Regions from separate parts of the Homo sapiens genome. Here region 2 is linked to region 1. Evidence: promoter capture Hi-C in 16 types of primary human blood cells and fetal thymus (Javierre and others, 2016). All regions are on one chromosome and are shown on one strand. The core of a region is centred on a gene start or on the middle of the fragment in contact, and the rest is flanking DNA. Distances in the headings are between cores, read along the strand shown.

Evidence for each region. The method cuts DNA at HindIII sites, captures the fragments that hold promoters and counts their contacts. A CHiCAGO score of 5 or more calls a contact.
Region 2: a contact is called between a fragment that was not itself captured here and the fragment with the promoter of AGXT in region 1, in 1 of 17 cell types (naive B cells). The highest score is 5.5, in naive B cells.

The regions. Positions count from the first base shown.
Region 1 is chr2:240,862,990-240,870,413 of GRCh38, forward strand. It overlaps AGXT (alanine--glyoxylate aminotransferase), which reads left to right and starts at 5,835. Exons shown (of 11, transcript NM_000030.3): 1 at 5,835-6,041; 2 at 6,181-6,373. The coding sequence starts at 5,877. RefSeq lists an enhancer at 5,354-5,854. The HindIII fragment of the contact is 16,005 bases long and covers 3,471-7,424 here.
Region 2 is chr2:241,583,507-241,590,930 of GRCh38, forward strand. THAP4 (THAP domain containing 4) reads right to left here. Exons shown (of 6, transcript NM_015963.6): 6 at 899-1,219. The coding sequence ends at 1,100. It also overlaps the pseudogene RNA5SP122. Among named protein-coding and RNA genes, the nearest start is that of BOK-AS1, 28 kb to the left of the region's middle. RefSeq lists enhancers at 793-1,321, 6,093-6,989, 6,990-7,424. The HindIII fragment of the contact is 4,093 bases long and covers 1-3,297 here.

The sequences.
Region 1 (7,424 bases), core at 4,585-7,084:
TGATCTTACGTGCAGTGCTAGGGCTGATCTAAAGGACACTGTGCATAAAATTCCTGATTCTACCTGGTGCACTGATGGTGGCAGGTTCATTTTAGAAGGAGAGTGTCAGGCTGTGCTATAGTTAGCCTAACTAAAGTCATAGAATCAGGTCCTCCACCCAGAGGAACCACCTTGGCTCAAAAAGCTGAACTAATAGCCCTTACCATAGCTCTCTAACTGGGGACTGGAATAAAGCTCAAGTGACTTACATCCTGACTCAATCTGTGTGTCACGTAACGCATGCCCATGAAGCCACTGGAAGCAAAGAGGATCTCTCACAGCCCAGAACACCGCCACTAACCATGCACCTCTCACAGCCCATAACACCCCCATTCAGCATGTCCCTGAAATTTCAACCTTGCTAGAAGACATACATCTCCTGATTGAAATAGCAAAATCCTTCACTGTCCGGCTCATCAAAAAGATAACTCAAATCCTGCCAGAGGGGATAATTATGCAGATAAACAAACTAAATCAACTGCTTGGCCACCCTCTTTCCTCACCCAATCCCACCAAAACCCCAGCACACCCCACAAAATTTACAAAAGGCACTAAAACAGGGTTTCACATTCATTCCTGAAGGATGGCTTCAAAACTCTGAAAATAAACTTCTCCTCCCTGAGGTTCCACAATGGAAAATCCTCTAAAATCTCCATCAAGCTAACCACCTGGGGGTGGAAACTTTACAAGCCTTAAGAGATCCTCTTTTTCAAGGGCCTAACCTAGCCTAGCCCCAACTCTATGGGACATTTCCCAATCCTGCCCAATTTGCTGTCAATCAAATCCTGAGGGTGCAATGAACCCCCTGCCCTCCTCCAACCTATTCAACGTAGAGGGCCTGTCCCAGGGGCGTACTGGCAAGCTGACTCTGCCCACATGCCCTCTCATAAGGGATTCAGATACCTTTTAGTCTTTATAGACACTTTCACAAGCTGGACTAAAGCCTTCCCACTCGAACAGAAAGAGCATCAGAAGTAACTACGGCTCTTTTAGAACACATTATTCCTCGATTTGGGGTCCCTCAATCCCTCCAATCAGACAATGGCCTGGCCTTTATTTCTTCTATTACTCCAGGAATCAGTGAGGCCCTCCAAATAAAATATCACTTACATGCTGCTTACCACCCACAGTCATCCAAGGGCCAAGCTAGCTTTGAAAACCCTTCTCACTAAGCTCTCTATAGAAACTCAACTGTTTTGGATAACTTTTCTTCCTATTGCCCTGTTAAGATCTAGAGTAATTCCCAAAGGTTTCAACCCACCTTAGCCCTTTTGAAATTATTTATGGATGCCCCTTTTTACAAACGGACTTATTACTTGATCCAGAGGCTCATTATCTGTCTCAATGTGATGCCTCCCTGGGCAAACTATCCAGGCCACTACTGAATACCAGGATAAATTTTGTCCAAAATCTGACCCCTCCTCATCAGAACTAAGACCTCCTGTTAACCTGGGGACTGGGTATATTTAAAAACTTTGCCTCCAGACAGAAAACCCCTTCCAGCCCTCTGGACTGGACCCTTTCAAGTCCTCATAGCCTCTCCCACAGCTGTTAACTGCAGGGATTCTCCCCTTGGGTCCACCTTTGCCACATAAAGTCTGTACTGCCGCCAGAACTCCAGCCTGCTTACACTTTGAGCCCTTGGAAGATCTATGATTTTTGTTTTGCAAACAACCAGGTGACACTAACCTCTCTTCAAAAGCAAAGGATACCACGTAAGCCTTTTGCTGTGTTTATCATTCACTTTCCTTTCCCTCCCTTGTCATTCATTTCCTTATGTACTCTAGAAGCGTTTTTAGGTCCTCCAATTTTCTGAGATTATCCTCAATTCACTTACTTTTTTTTTTTTTTTTTTTTTGAGACAGAGTTTTGCTCTTGTCACCCAGGCTATAGTGCAATGGTGCGATCTCGGCTCACTGCAACCGCCATCTCCCGGGTTCAAGTGATTCTCCCGCCTCAACCTCCTGAGTAGCTGGGATTACAGGCATGCACCACCATGCCCGGCTATTTTTTTTTTTTTTTTTTTTTTTTTGTATTTTTAGTAGAGACAGGGTTTCACCATGTTGGCCAGGCTGTTCTCACACTTCTGACCTCAGGTGATCCGCCCGTCTCAGCCTCCCAAAGTGCTGGAATTACAGGCATGAGCCACCACACCCAGCCAATTTACTGTCTCTTTATCCAATCCCCATTTCTCAAGACCCACATACAATTATTCAGCTTGCACTAGATTTTTATTTGCAGGGTGGTTTTTCTAATTATACTTGGAGCAACTTTTGTAACAGTCCTTGAATTAGAACAATGAGACTCCTTTTTTCTTTCTTTCATGTTTTTCTCTTTATCTCTCATATAAAAACTTCCCAATCCTCTTGGTTTGACAATATCATCTTCAGCATCTCACATGCTATTGTGAGAGGAGAAAATACTCTGTGTGGCTGGCTTTGCCGTCCACAACCTGCTACTCCAAGCCATGTAGATTCTTCTTCGTAAGCACACCCTGTCTCCAATCAAACTGTACTGTTGGGATTTCATTATTCTTCTCACCACTCCTTCCCACCCCGACCATTTCCTTCTGTGCTGGTAAATTGGAAACCACCTCCCTCTTCGTGCTATCATATTACTTCCCCCACCATCCACACTTACAATATCACTGAAACTTCCTTAACTTGTAATGTTATTTTGGGAGGTACACCTTGTTATAATGACACTCATGCAGCTAACTTTGACTCATTTGAGGCCTTCGCCTCCTACAATCAAAACTCTGACTCTGGCCAGGTGCGCTGGCTCACACCTGTAATCCTAACACTTTGGGAGGTAGAGGTGGGTGGATCACCTGAGGTCAGGAGTTCGAGACCAGTCTGACCAACATGGTGAAACCCTGTCTCTACTAAAAATACAAAAATTAGCAGGGCGTGGTGGCAGGTGCCTGTAATCCCAGCTACTCAGGAGGCTGAGGCAGGAGAATCGCTTGAACCCAGGAGCAGAGGTTGCAGTGAGCCAAGGTCACACCACTTCACTCCAGCCTGGGCAACTGAGTGAGACTCCATCTCAAAAAAAAAAAAAAAAAAAATCTGACTCTATCTCATCACTGCCAATTTATAAGCCGTTAAACTGGACCAGTATAGTGGGGCTCCCAGTATACAGCACCCCTGCACTCCTAATACCTTCATGTATGTTACTATAATGATGCAACCAGTGCAGGAAATAACCACCGTGCCACCTGGTTTACATCCTATGCCATGCACTGGCACCCGCCTGCTTTTAAACCTCCTCCATCAGTACATAAACATAGTCTTTCCCCCATATGAGTCCTCTTAAAACTGTCAAAAGGCCCATTTCCTTTTTTCCCAACATTTTAATTAAAATAATCATCCTGCCCCTCCTGGGCTCTTATGGCTTAGCAGCCCCACTAAAAACTATTTAAACCCTTTTCAAGCTTTGGCCCTATCCCACCTTGATCATTCTCTTCACTATGGTGATTGTAGCCTGGGAACAATAGCTCCCACCCAAATCACTGTCTTAAACATCACTTCTAATTCAGAATTCCCTTCTAGAAGGAAAAGGGCCCTGGGACTTACTGTGGCCGGAGTTGTGGGAACTATCACAACTCTTACCCCTTGGGGAGGTTTTACTTACCAGGAAATCACAAGTAAGAGAACCTACCGCCTCCCTTGAAATAGCAAAAGCTGGCACCCATCTATCAGCTCTACAAGTCATTAGACTCACAAGCAGGATTTTGGTGTCTGGTAACAGGTGAGTTCTGGATTACCTCCTAGCTGAACAAGGAGGGGTCTGTGCTGTCATCAACAGGACCCGTTGCACCTACATTTATGTGTCTGGAGAAGTGGAAACCGATGCCCAAGAAATCATCAAACAAGCCAAATGGCTACACACACTTTCCCAAAGCAACCAAGACTGGGCCAAAACTTTTACTGATTGGTTTTCAAAAAATCACTTGGCTTCCCCCATTCCTTAGACCTTTATCTTCTGTCATTTTTCTTTTAATATTTGGTCCCTGCCTTTTTAATGCTCTGATTGCTTTTCTATGTTCTACATGAGAACAATTCCACCTGCAGAAGGCTATGCATTCCCAACACTGGCCTGCAACTGCAGCTCGATTTACATGGGGCTTCTTGATGGAAATACCGGCCTGCAACTGCAGCTCCCATTTACGTGGGGCTTCTTGATGGAATCCCATCACGTGCCTCCGTGCACAAGTTTTCATGACCCTTTATTCCCTTCATGACCGAGAGCAAGAAAGGGAAAAACGTGACCTACCCCCCTGAACTCCCTTTCAGCAGCAAGTAGTCAGGCGCACTGGACACCCCTCTTCACTGTGCCGTTTCCCCTTTCTTGAGACCCCAACAGGAAGCAGGTGGACATGAGCATGGCAGAAAAGGAAGGGTCAAAGATTTCACCAAGATATTTGTCAGAGGGAAAATGAGGACAGCAAAGATCACCTGGAGACCATCAAGCAGGCCCCAGGTGGGGTGGGTGGAGGGGAGCCTCTTTATTTGAGAAATGTAGAATGAATTAGACTTCCCTATTATCTAAAGTTGGCACCTGGTTCCAGGCCTCTTTTCAACCTAAAACTTATACATAACTAGAATTTCTATACATCTCTGGAATGCAGCATGCTGAAACTCACTGTGCAACCCCTGCCTTGTGTGTGTCTGTATACCATGCAGGTTTGCTTGCTAAATTGAGCCTGTAAACCAAAAAGTACCTCAAACAGGTCTCAATTAATTTAGAAAGTTTTTGTTGCCAAGGCTAAGGATGCACCCGTGGTACAGCCTCAGGAGGGAGGACATCCTTGCCAAGCTCAAGGGTGCACCCCTGACCACAAGGGCCCAAGGTGGTCGGGGCACAGCTTGCTTTTATACATTTTAGGGAGATATGAGGCATCAATCAATACATGGGAGATTTACATTGGTTCCATCTGGAAGGGCGGGACAACTTGAATTGGGGGGCTTCCAGGTCATAGGTAGATTTAAACATATTTTGATTGGCAACTGACTGAAGAATTATTATCAGCAGAAAGGAGTGTCTGGGTTATGAAATAGGGGTTGCAGGGAGCAGATGATGCCTTCAGGTAGCGGGATTTAGAGAGAAAATAGATGGTAAATGCTTCCTATCAGACTTAAGGTCTATGTCGATGTTAATGCTGGGGGTTATGATGTGGCATGGCCTGAACGTCTTCCGGGTTAAAGTTTAGAGCACCCTGGCGGACAGGGAACCCCATTCAGATGGTTGCTGGGGGGCCTTCGAATTTTATTTTTGGTTTACAAGCCTTCCCATCAGCTGCGCCAGGGTCAGCAAACCACAGTCCATGGGCCCAATCTGGCCTGCCACCTGCTTTTTGTAAATAAAGTTTTATAGGAACACGCCCACACCTCTGGCAGCTGCTTTGCAAGCACGCAGCAGGGTTGAGTTGTTGCAACATAGACCACAGGGCCTGCCAAGCCTCAATTATCTGTGCTCCGACCCTTTAAGAAACACTTCTCTCACCCCTGAGCTAAGCAGAATAAGAGGGGCTGGACGTGCAGGACTCAGAGTGGGAGCGAGGAGGGCTGGGGTGAGGACAGCTTTGTCACACTCTGTTTTTCTGTCACTCAGCCCTGGGGGCTCCCTCTGCCTGAGGGCTTCGTCCCCTGCTGCCTGGCCGTGACCCGCAGCACAAGCACAGATAAGCCTCAGGGAACAAAAGGCAGGGCTGCCACGGAAGCCCATCCACCAATCCTCACCTCTCACCTCTGTGTCCGCCCTGCTGGGAAATATTCCAGGCTTTGGCCAAGGCCAGTGCAGCCCCAGGTTCCCGAGCGGCAGGTTGGGTGCGGACCATGGCCTCTCACAAGCTGCTGGTGACCCCCCCCAAGGCCCTGCTCAAGCCCCTCTCCATCCCCAACCAGCTCCTGCTGGGGCCTGGTCCTTCCAACCTGCCTCCTCGCATCATGGCAGCCGGGGGGCTGCAGATGATCGGGTCCATGAGCAAGGATATGTACCAGGTAGGAGTGGGGGTCACTCGGGGGGCCTGGGTCTCACCCATGTTCCCACCCACAGATCGTGGACGAGGGAAGGGGGTCACTGCCTCCTCACTTGGGGAGGCGGGGAGCCTGGGTCTCACCCTATACCACCCGCATGCAGATCATGGACGAGATCAAGGAAGGCATCCAGTACGTGTTCCAGACCAGGAACCCACTCACACTGGTCATCTCTGGCTCGGGACACTGTGCCCTGGAGGCCGCCCTGGTCAATGTGCTGGAGCCTGGGGACTCCTTCCTGGTTGGGGCCAATGGCATTTGGGGGCAGCGAGCCGTGGACATCGGGGAGCGCATAGGTAAGGGAGAGGCCCAGGTGGGGATGGCCCTGGATCCATCCTTCAAGGCCTCCCTGGCCTCCCTCTGTTTGAAGCTGGCAGCCCCCGTTCCTGGGTGAGCGCTTACCCACCTTGTGGCCCTGTGCGCACGAACCTCCTGCCAGCCCACTGCCTCCTCCAGGCGGTGTCGGGCACTCATGAGGCCTGACTCTGATAGGGCTGGGAGCAGCACAGGTGCCCCGATCCCCCCAGTCTCCTTGAGCTGTTTCTGGAGCATGTGCAGGACGGAACTACAGGGAAGCCTCTGGTCCCAGCACACACTCCTGAGAGCCCCGGCCGCTGTCCAGGGCCCCAGGCACCAGCTCTGCTTTGTGACAGGGTGGGGTTTCAGAAGCTGAAGCCTCCCCTCAAATCTCAGCAGCCTTCCTTCTGGAATCTTGATGTGATACACAAAATATGGAGGTATGGGCAGAGTATTCGCCTCCGGAGTACACTTTTCTGGGAGAGACACAGGAGCAGGAGTGTGCCCTGGGTTTAATGATTGATTGTGGCATTGAGGGACATCAGCTTGGTGAGCTCCACAATGGCCATGCTGGTTAATACGCGACCGCAACAGCCAAGAGGGTCCCAACCCCAAGTCCACAAACTTTTCAAGGGGACCCAGGGTCGGCAGAGGCCAGGACCCCAAGTGGACATCAGGGCACGCAGGCTCAGATGCCTGTGGTATATGGCTTCCCTTTTCCCCATTCTGTCCCCTTGGCCGCAGGTTCTTCCCCTCCCACAACCTGGCCCTGAACAGCACACAGGATAGGGCAGAGACAGGGAGGGGGTGAGGGCCTGATTCCTGGAGTCCCCAGCTCCAACAGAGGTCAAGGCTGCTGCCTCACTCACCCCTCATCCTTCAGTCTGTCATCCATCACACCTGTGGTGTGCCAGCCCTGGACCAGGTACACTCTTTGTGCCAGCCCTGGGCCAGGTGCAGCCCTGACTCCCGGGAGCTCACTCTCTGCTTGGGGAGGCACTGGTCAGTGTGGCCTGAGAAAGGGCATTTGAGCTGAGCTCTGTCAAGAGT
Region 2 (7,424 bases), core at 1-2,500, 720 kb after region 1:
ACGAAAGCTGTATTAGAGTTACAAACTAAAACTTACATGATGATGTTAAGATCACAGCTAGCCTCTTGGGAATGCTCCATCTGTAGGAAAATATAGACTCGGCTCTTTAAAAGTAATGAGAAAATGACTGCCATCTTTTTTTTTTGGAGACAGGGTCTTGCTCTGTCACCCAAGTTGGAGTGCAGTGGTGTGATCTTGGTTCACTGCAACCTCCACCACCCGGGCTCCAGGGATCCTCCCACCTCAGCCTTCTGAGTAGGTGGGACCACAGGCATGGACCACCATACTCGGCTAATATTTCTATTTTTTTTTGTAGGGATGGGGTTTTGCCACGTTGCCCAGGCTGGTCCCAAACTCCTGGCTTCAAGCCATTTCCTCGCCTTGGCCTCCCAAAGTGCTGGGATTATAGGCGTGAGCCACTGCGCCCGGCCAACTCTATAGAAGATTTACAAATATTTTAGATCTTGTCAAAACTGTAAGAAGAAAGAAAAGGAAAGAGATTCATCCCTTCTTAATTTTTTTTTTTTTTTTTTTCCAGACAGAGTCTTGCTCTTGTCTCCCAGGCTGGAGTGCAGTGGTGCGATCTTGGCTCACTGCAACCTCCAACTCCTGGGTTCAAGCGATTCTCCTGCCTTAGCCTCCCAAGTAGCCAGGATTATAGGCATGCGCCACCACACCTGGCTAATTTTTTGTATTTTAAGTAGAGACGGGGTTTCTCCATGTTGGTCAGGCTGGTCTCGAACTCCTGACCTTAGGTGATCCGCCAGCCTTGGTCTCCCATAGTACTGGGATTACAGGCGTGAGCCACCACACCCAGCCCCCTTCTTAATTTCTTAGGGAACGCTTTGGAAAACAAACATCAGCAGATAAAAAAAAAATGTACAGCCTACGCAAGTGATAATATTCAAAATCCTCAGCCATAAAAATAAAGGCCTTTTATTTGGTTTTTCTATGCCAGTACAGAAACATCTGGACAACACTCTTGAGCCTGCAGAGGCTCACGGCCACACCCACTTCTGCCGCAGGGACTGTCTGTTGAGGAGCCGAACCGTTGAGGCACAGTAGCCAGGCCCTCCCGAGGGCTCCAGAAGCTCTAGGTTTACGGGGTCACCTTCTTGTAGGTGACGTGAAGATGCTGAGTCATTGGCTGTGTCGTGGTTGCCATGGAGACCGTCTGCTCAAGTTTGCCTTCAGAATTCAGCCTGAACTTCCGGGTGATCTGAGCAGGAGAATGGAACAAAGATAGCTTAGTTTTATCTTCAAAAGATTCAATCAATGCCTGTGCGCCCACTGCATGCCACACACTCATCACGGGCTGTGAGCCAGGCAGTGGCCCTGCCAGAGGAGGGTAGACACACAGCCCAGGGCCCCTGGGCATGTCACAATCCAGGTGCCCTTCAGCTGCCTCCAGAAGACCACCAGGGGAACACAGGGATTGTTTATTTAGAAGTCACCTTTTTTGTCGACGGCCATACCACCCTGAACGCACCTGATCTCGTCTGACCTCGGAAGCTAAGGAGGGTCGGGCCTGGTTAGTACTTGGATGGGAGAAGTCACCTTTTTTTGGTCTCTACAAATCATATACCTGATCAGACAAGCGCTGAGCTTCCAGTGCTTCCCTTCTCCACTGCCTCCCACTTTCACTGTAACTAGAACTGATGTCCAGTGTGTTCTTGGAAAGCTCAGAAATACCATCTTTGGAACAGTAATTCATCAGAATAAATTATAGCAGCTGTTTCCAACAAGAATCCAAGCCTATGGCAGCTAAGTCCCGAATGAGTCAGCCCTATATGCCCAGAATGTTTGCCGGCAAATTGTGAGAGTGACCACTGTCAAAAGACAATTCTCTGATGGGCACTATCTCTCTAGTGCCCCAGATGTGTGGGGGGTCATGTGGGGTGGGGGGCACCAGAAGTGGATGAAACGGAGTTCTGCTTATGGCCATGGCTGACTACTCTGTAACTGACCAACCCTCCTGCAGATAACAACCCAGGTTTTAAGAAGTTTCTTTAAAGGTGTCAGAGAACCACCAAGTCAGCGAGGACCAGCACCCCAAAGAGAAGGAAGTGTGGAGGTGAGACCCAATTTGGAGCAACTGGCCCCGATGCTTTTGCTGCCCGGAAGTCAAGGGGTTCAAGGGGTGGAGGCTGAGAGGGATGTGGTAGCTAAGAGGCTGAGAAGCTAAGTGGGGCCTTCTCAGACTCATGGAGCTGGAGGGACAAACACTGGAATTCAGTGTCCATCTAGGAGGAGAGGCGCAGCCGGGCATGGTGGTATGCACATGTAGTCCCAGCTACTCGGGAAGTTGAGGCAGCAGAATTGCTTGAACCCAAGAGGTGGAGGTTGCAGTGAGCCGAGATCATGCCACTGCACTTCAGCCTGGGTGACAGAGCAAGACTCCTTCTCAAAAAAAAAAAAAAAAAGAAAAAAAAAAGAAAAAGAAAAAGAAAGAAAAAAAGCACCCTGAGGTTGGGCACGGTGGTTCACGCCTGTAATCCCAGCACTTTGGGAGGCCGAGGCGGGCGGATCACGAGGTAAGGAGATCGAGACCATCCTGGCTAACAGGGTGAAACCCCGTCTCTACTAAAAATACAAAAAAAATTAGCCGGGTGTGGTGGCGGGTGCCTGTAGTCCCAGCTACTCAGGAGGCTGAGGCAGGAGAATGGCGTGAACCCAGGAGGCGGAGCTTGCAGTGAGCCAAGATCGCGCCACTGCACTCCAGCCTGAGCAACAGAGCGAGACTCCATCTGAAGAGGAAAAAAAAAAAAAAAAAAAAAAGCACCCCAGCTTTGGGTGGGGTCCCTGAAGGGTCCCATCCCAGGAGTAAGAGTTAACCAGAAACAGGCTGGGAAGTCCGGTTTCAAACCAGCTCAGCCTCTACTGAACACGAGCTGTCCATCCTTGACCAACAGGCAGAAGCACAGAACTGCTCTTTGGTGAGGATAACATCAAAGGAAGCCTCAAGTCATCTCTACAATTTTTCACACATATTGTCTAGAATCCAAGAAAAAAAGAAAAACTCCTTAGGTTACTAGGAGATAAGATCAAAAGAAAAAACAGGAAATAGACACCTCCCCCACCCTCACCCAGGGGATACCAATACTGGAGTTATTAGAAGACAATATGGAGAATTTCTGCAGGTAATCAGAATTTATCAAAAAGATTAAAATATAAATTCTACAACTGAAAAACATAATAACTCAAATTAAGGCCCCAATAATGAAATAGACAAATTAGACACAGATGAAGAAAGGATTAGTAAAATGGAAAATGATCAGTAGGAAATATCCACATTGAAGCTTAGAGAATAATGGAAAATATGGATGAAAGCATAAGGGACACATTGAAAATTGCAAAAGACTGAACACATGTGTAACCAGAGACCCAGAAGAAGATAGGAAAGACAACAGAACACAAGCAATATTTGAAAAGATCATGGCCAATTTTCTGAGCCTAACAAAATATATCAAGCCACAAATTCTAATTATATCACAGCAAAACTTTGGCTGATAATCAAAGGCAAGAAAATAGAAACTTGAAAGCAGCCAGAGGTGGGTGTGGGTGTCATGGTTAATTTTAGGTGTCAAAGGTCAAAGGTGACCGATTAAGGAACACCTAGAAACCCGGTAAAGGATTATTTTGAGTATGTCTGAGAAGATGTTTCCAGAGGTGACTGACCAGGTGAGGAAGATCTACCCTCCATGAGGGTGGGCACCATCTAATAGGCTGGGGGCCCAGATAAAATAAAAACAAAGATAAGGCGAATATGTCCATCTGTTTGCTGGAGCTGGGATACACTCTTCCTCCCCCGTCCTTGGACACCTCCAGGCCCCCCGACCTTTGGACTCCCAGATGTCACCAGCACCTCCTCTCTCCTCAGGGCTCTGAGACCTTTGGCCCAGGACCAAGAGTGACACCACTGACTTCCCTGGTTCTGAAGCCTTTGGACTTGGACTGAGCCATGACACTGGCATCCCAGGGTTTCCAGCTTGTGGAGGGGACTTTTATAACTATTGAATGCTACATTCGTTAAGTGTACATGAAATATTCATGAAGTTAGGCCATATACTGGGGCGTAAAATAAGTCTCCAACATTTTTTAACAGACTAAAATATTAGAGGGTATGTTGTCTGGGCCTTATAGAATTGAATGAAAAATCCTGAGCAATAGAATCTATTTAAAAAATTCTCAATTATTTGGAAAATAAGTAACATATCTCTAAATAACCCTGTTCAAAGAAAAAAAAAATCACTACAAAATTAGCCGGGTGTGGTGGCACATGCCTTTAATCCCAGCTACTCGGGAGGCTGAGACAGGAGAATCACTTGAACTGGCGAGGTGGGGGTTGCAGTGAGCCAAGATTGCGCCACTGCACTCCAGCCTGGGCAACAAGAGAGAAACTCCATCTCAAAAAAAAAGAAAAAAATCACTAGAGAATAGCCACTCTACTCCAGCCTGGGCAACACAGAATACCTTGTTTTTATTGAAAGAAAAAAGTAAAAAGGAGAGAAAAGAAGGAAGGAAGGAAGGGAGGGAGGGAGGGAGGGAAGGAAAAGAAGAAAAATAAAGAAACAAACTACAGAAATGAATGAATTTAACAAAGTCACATGATACGAGATCAATATACAACAGCTAATTGTACTTCTATATACTTGCAACAAATAAGTGGAAAATTAAAAAATCATTTATAATAGCATCCCAAACCACAAAATATGTAGGAATAAATTTAACAAAATGTGTGCAAAACCAATACGTTGAAAACTACAAGAAAATATAGGATGAGACTGATCTAAATAAATGGAGCACCTTACCATGGCACTGGATTGGAGGACTCAGTTTGCCTAAGATGGCACTTCTTCCCAAATTAATTTAGAAATTCAAGTAGTTCCAATGAAAATGTTTCTAGAAACTGACAAGCTGATTCTGAAATTCATAAGGAAATGCAAAGGGTCCTAGGATAGCCAAAACAATTTTGGAAAAAAGAAAAAGAAGAAAAGTTGGGTAACTTCTATCACCTGATTCAATATAAAGCTACAATGATCAAGACAGCATGGTAACAGTATAAAGACCGAAACAGAGAAGAGTGGGACAGAAGAGAGAGTCCTGGGGAAGAACCACACACACAAAGTGAGTTGATTTTCGACAAAAGCACTGCATACTTTAATAAATTAAGGGTTCTCTTTTCAACAAATGGTGCTGGAAACGAGGTATCTGTATGAGGAAAAATGGAAAAAACGTGACTACTACCTCATACCATCTAGAAATAGCAATTCCAAATAGCATATATCTTAAAACTATAAAACTTCTTGAAGAAAATGCAGGTGAAAATCTTTGCTGCCTGGGCTAGGTGAAAAATTTTAAGACAGGACACAAAAAGCACTGACTAGAGAAAAAAAATGGTAACAGAATTAAAACATTTGGTTCTAGACTGCGCATGGTGGCTCACGCCTGTCATCTCAGCGCTTTGGGAGACCAACGAGGGTGGATCACCTGACGTCAGGTCGAGACCGGCCTGGCCAACATGGTGAAACCCCGTCTTTACTAAAAATACAAAAAATTAGCCGGCCATGGTGGTGGGAGCCTGTAATCCGAGCTACTTGGGAGGCTGAGAGAGGATAATCGCTTGAATCTGGGAGGTAGAGGTTGCAGTGAGCTGAGATCAGGCCATTGCATTCCAGCCTGGGCAACGAGAGCAAACAATGTCTCAAAAAAAAAAAAGAAAAAGAAAAGAAACCCCCCACCCCCACCAAAAAAAACAACATTTGGTTCTTCAAATGGTACTGTCTAGGAAACAGAAAGGCAAGGCACAGGATAGGAATATCGTGTTGGCAAGTACACCTGATAAAGGACTTATACCCAGAACAAACAACAGGCTCTTACAACTCAGGAATAACACAAACACTTAAACAAATGGGCAAAAAATCTGAATGTTCATTTCACAAAACAAGAAATACAAGTGGCAAATAAGTACAACAAAAAGATGAGCAGCATCGTTACTCAGCAGGGAAGTGCAAATTAACATCACAATAAAATACCACCCTGTAGTGGCCAGGATAAAACTCAAAGGCCAACCCTTGGCGAGGCTGTGGGACAACCTTGCTGGGGTGTCAAGGGGGACAGCCACTCTGGAAGAGATTGGTGCTTACCACAGAACCCAGCAGTTCCAATCCCAGGTATGCACCCAAGAGGAAAAAAAACATGTGTCCACACAAAGTTAGGTCTACACATGCTTACAGCTTTATTCCTAATAGCCCGGAACTGGAAACAAATAAAATAAACATCCATCAACAGAAAGGATAAACAAAACTGACAAGCTCACTGGTGGACCACCACACAGCAACAAGCAGACGTGGCACATGCAGCAGAACTGCTGAATCTTGAGAGCGTTTCAGTGAGGAAAGGAGACCGGAAACAAATGAGTTGTGTGCTGTGACTCCACTGATGATAATGATGGGCACTAGGACACTCAGAGCTGCTCGGCTGACGATGATGGGCACTAGGACACTCAGAGCTGCTCGGCTGACGATGACGGGCACTAGGACACGCAGAGCTGCTCGGCTGACGATGATGGGCACTAGGACACGCAGAGCTGCTCGGCTGACGATGATGGGCACTAGGACACTCAGAGCTGCTCGGCTGATGATAATGGGCACTAGGACACTCAGCTGCCCGGCTGATGATAATGGGCACTAGGACACACAGAGCTGCTCGGCTGATGATAATGGGCACTAGGACACTCAGAGCTGCTCGGCTGATGATAATGGGCACTAGGACACTCAGAGCTGCCCGGCTGATGATGAGGGGCACTAGGACACTCAGAGCTGCCCGGCTGATGATGATGGGCACTAGGACACTCAGAACTGCCCGGCTGATGATGAGGGGCACTAGGACACTCAGAGCTGCTCGGCTGATGATAATGGGCACTAGGACACGCAGAGCTGCTCGGCTGATGATAATGGGCACTAGGACACTCAGAGCTGCTCGGCTGATGATAATGGGCACTAGGACACACAGAGCTGCTCGGCTGATGATGGGCACTAGGACACTCAGAACTGCCCGGCTGATGATGAGGGGCACTAGGACACTCAGAGCTGCTCGGCTGATGATGATGGGCACTAGGACACGCAGAGCTGCCCGGCTGACGATGATGGGCACTAGGACACTCAGAGCTGCTCGGCTGATGATGATGGGCACTAGGACACACAGAACTGCTTGGCTGATGATCATGGGCACTAGGACACTCAGAACTGCCCGGCTGATGATGAGGGGCACTAGGACACTCAGAGCTGCTCGGCTGATGATAATGGGCACTAGGACACGCAGAGCTGCCCGGCTGACGATAATGGGCACTAGGACACACAGAACTGCCCGGCTGACGATGATGGGCACTAGGACACACAGAACTGCCCGGCTGACGATGATGG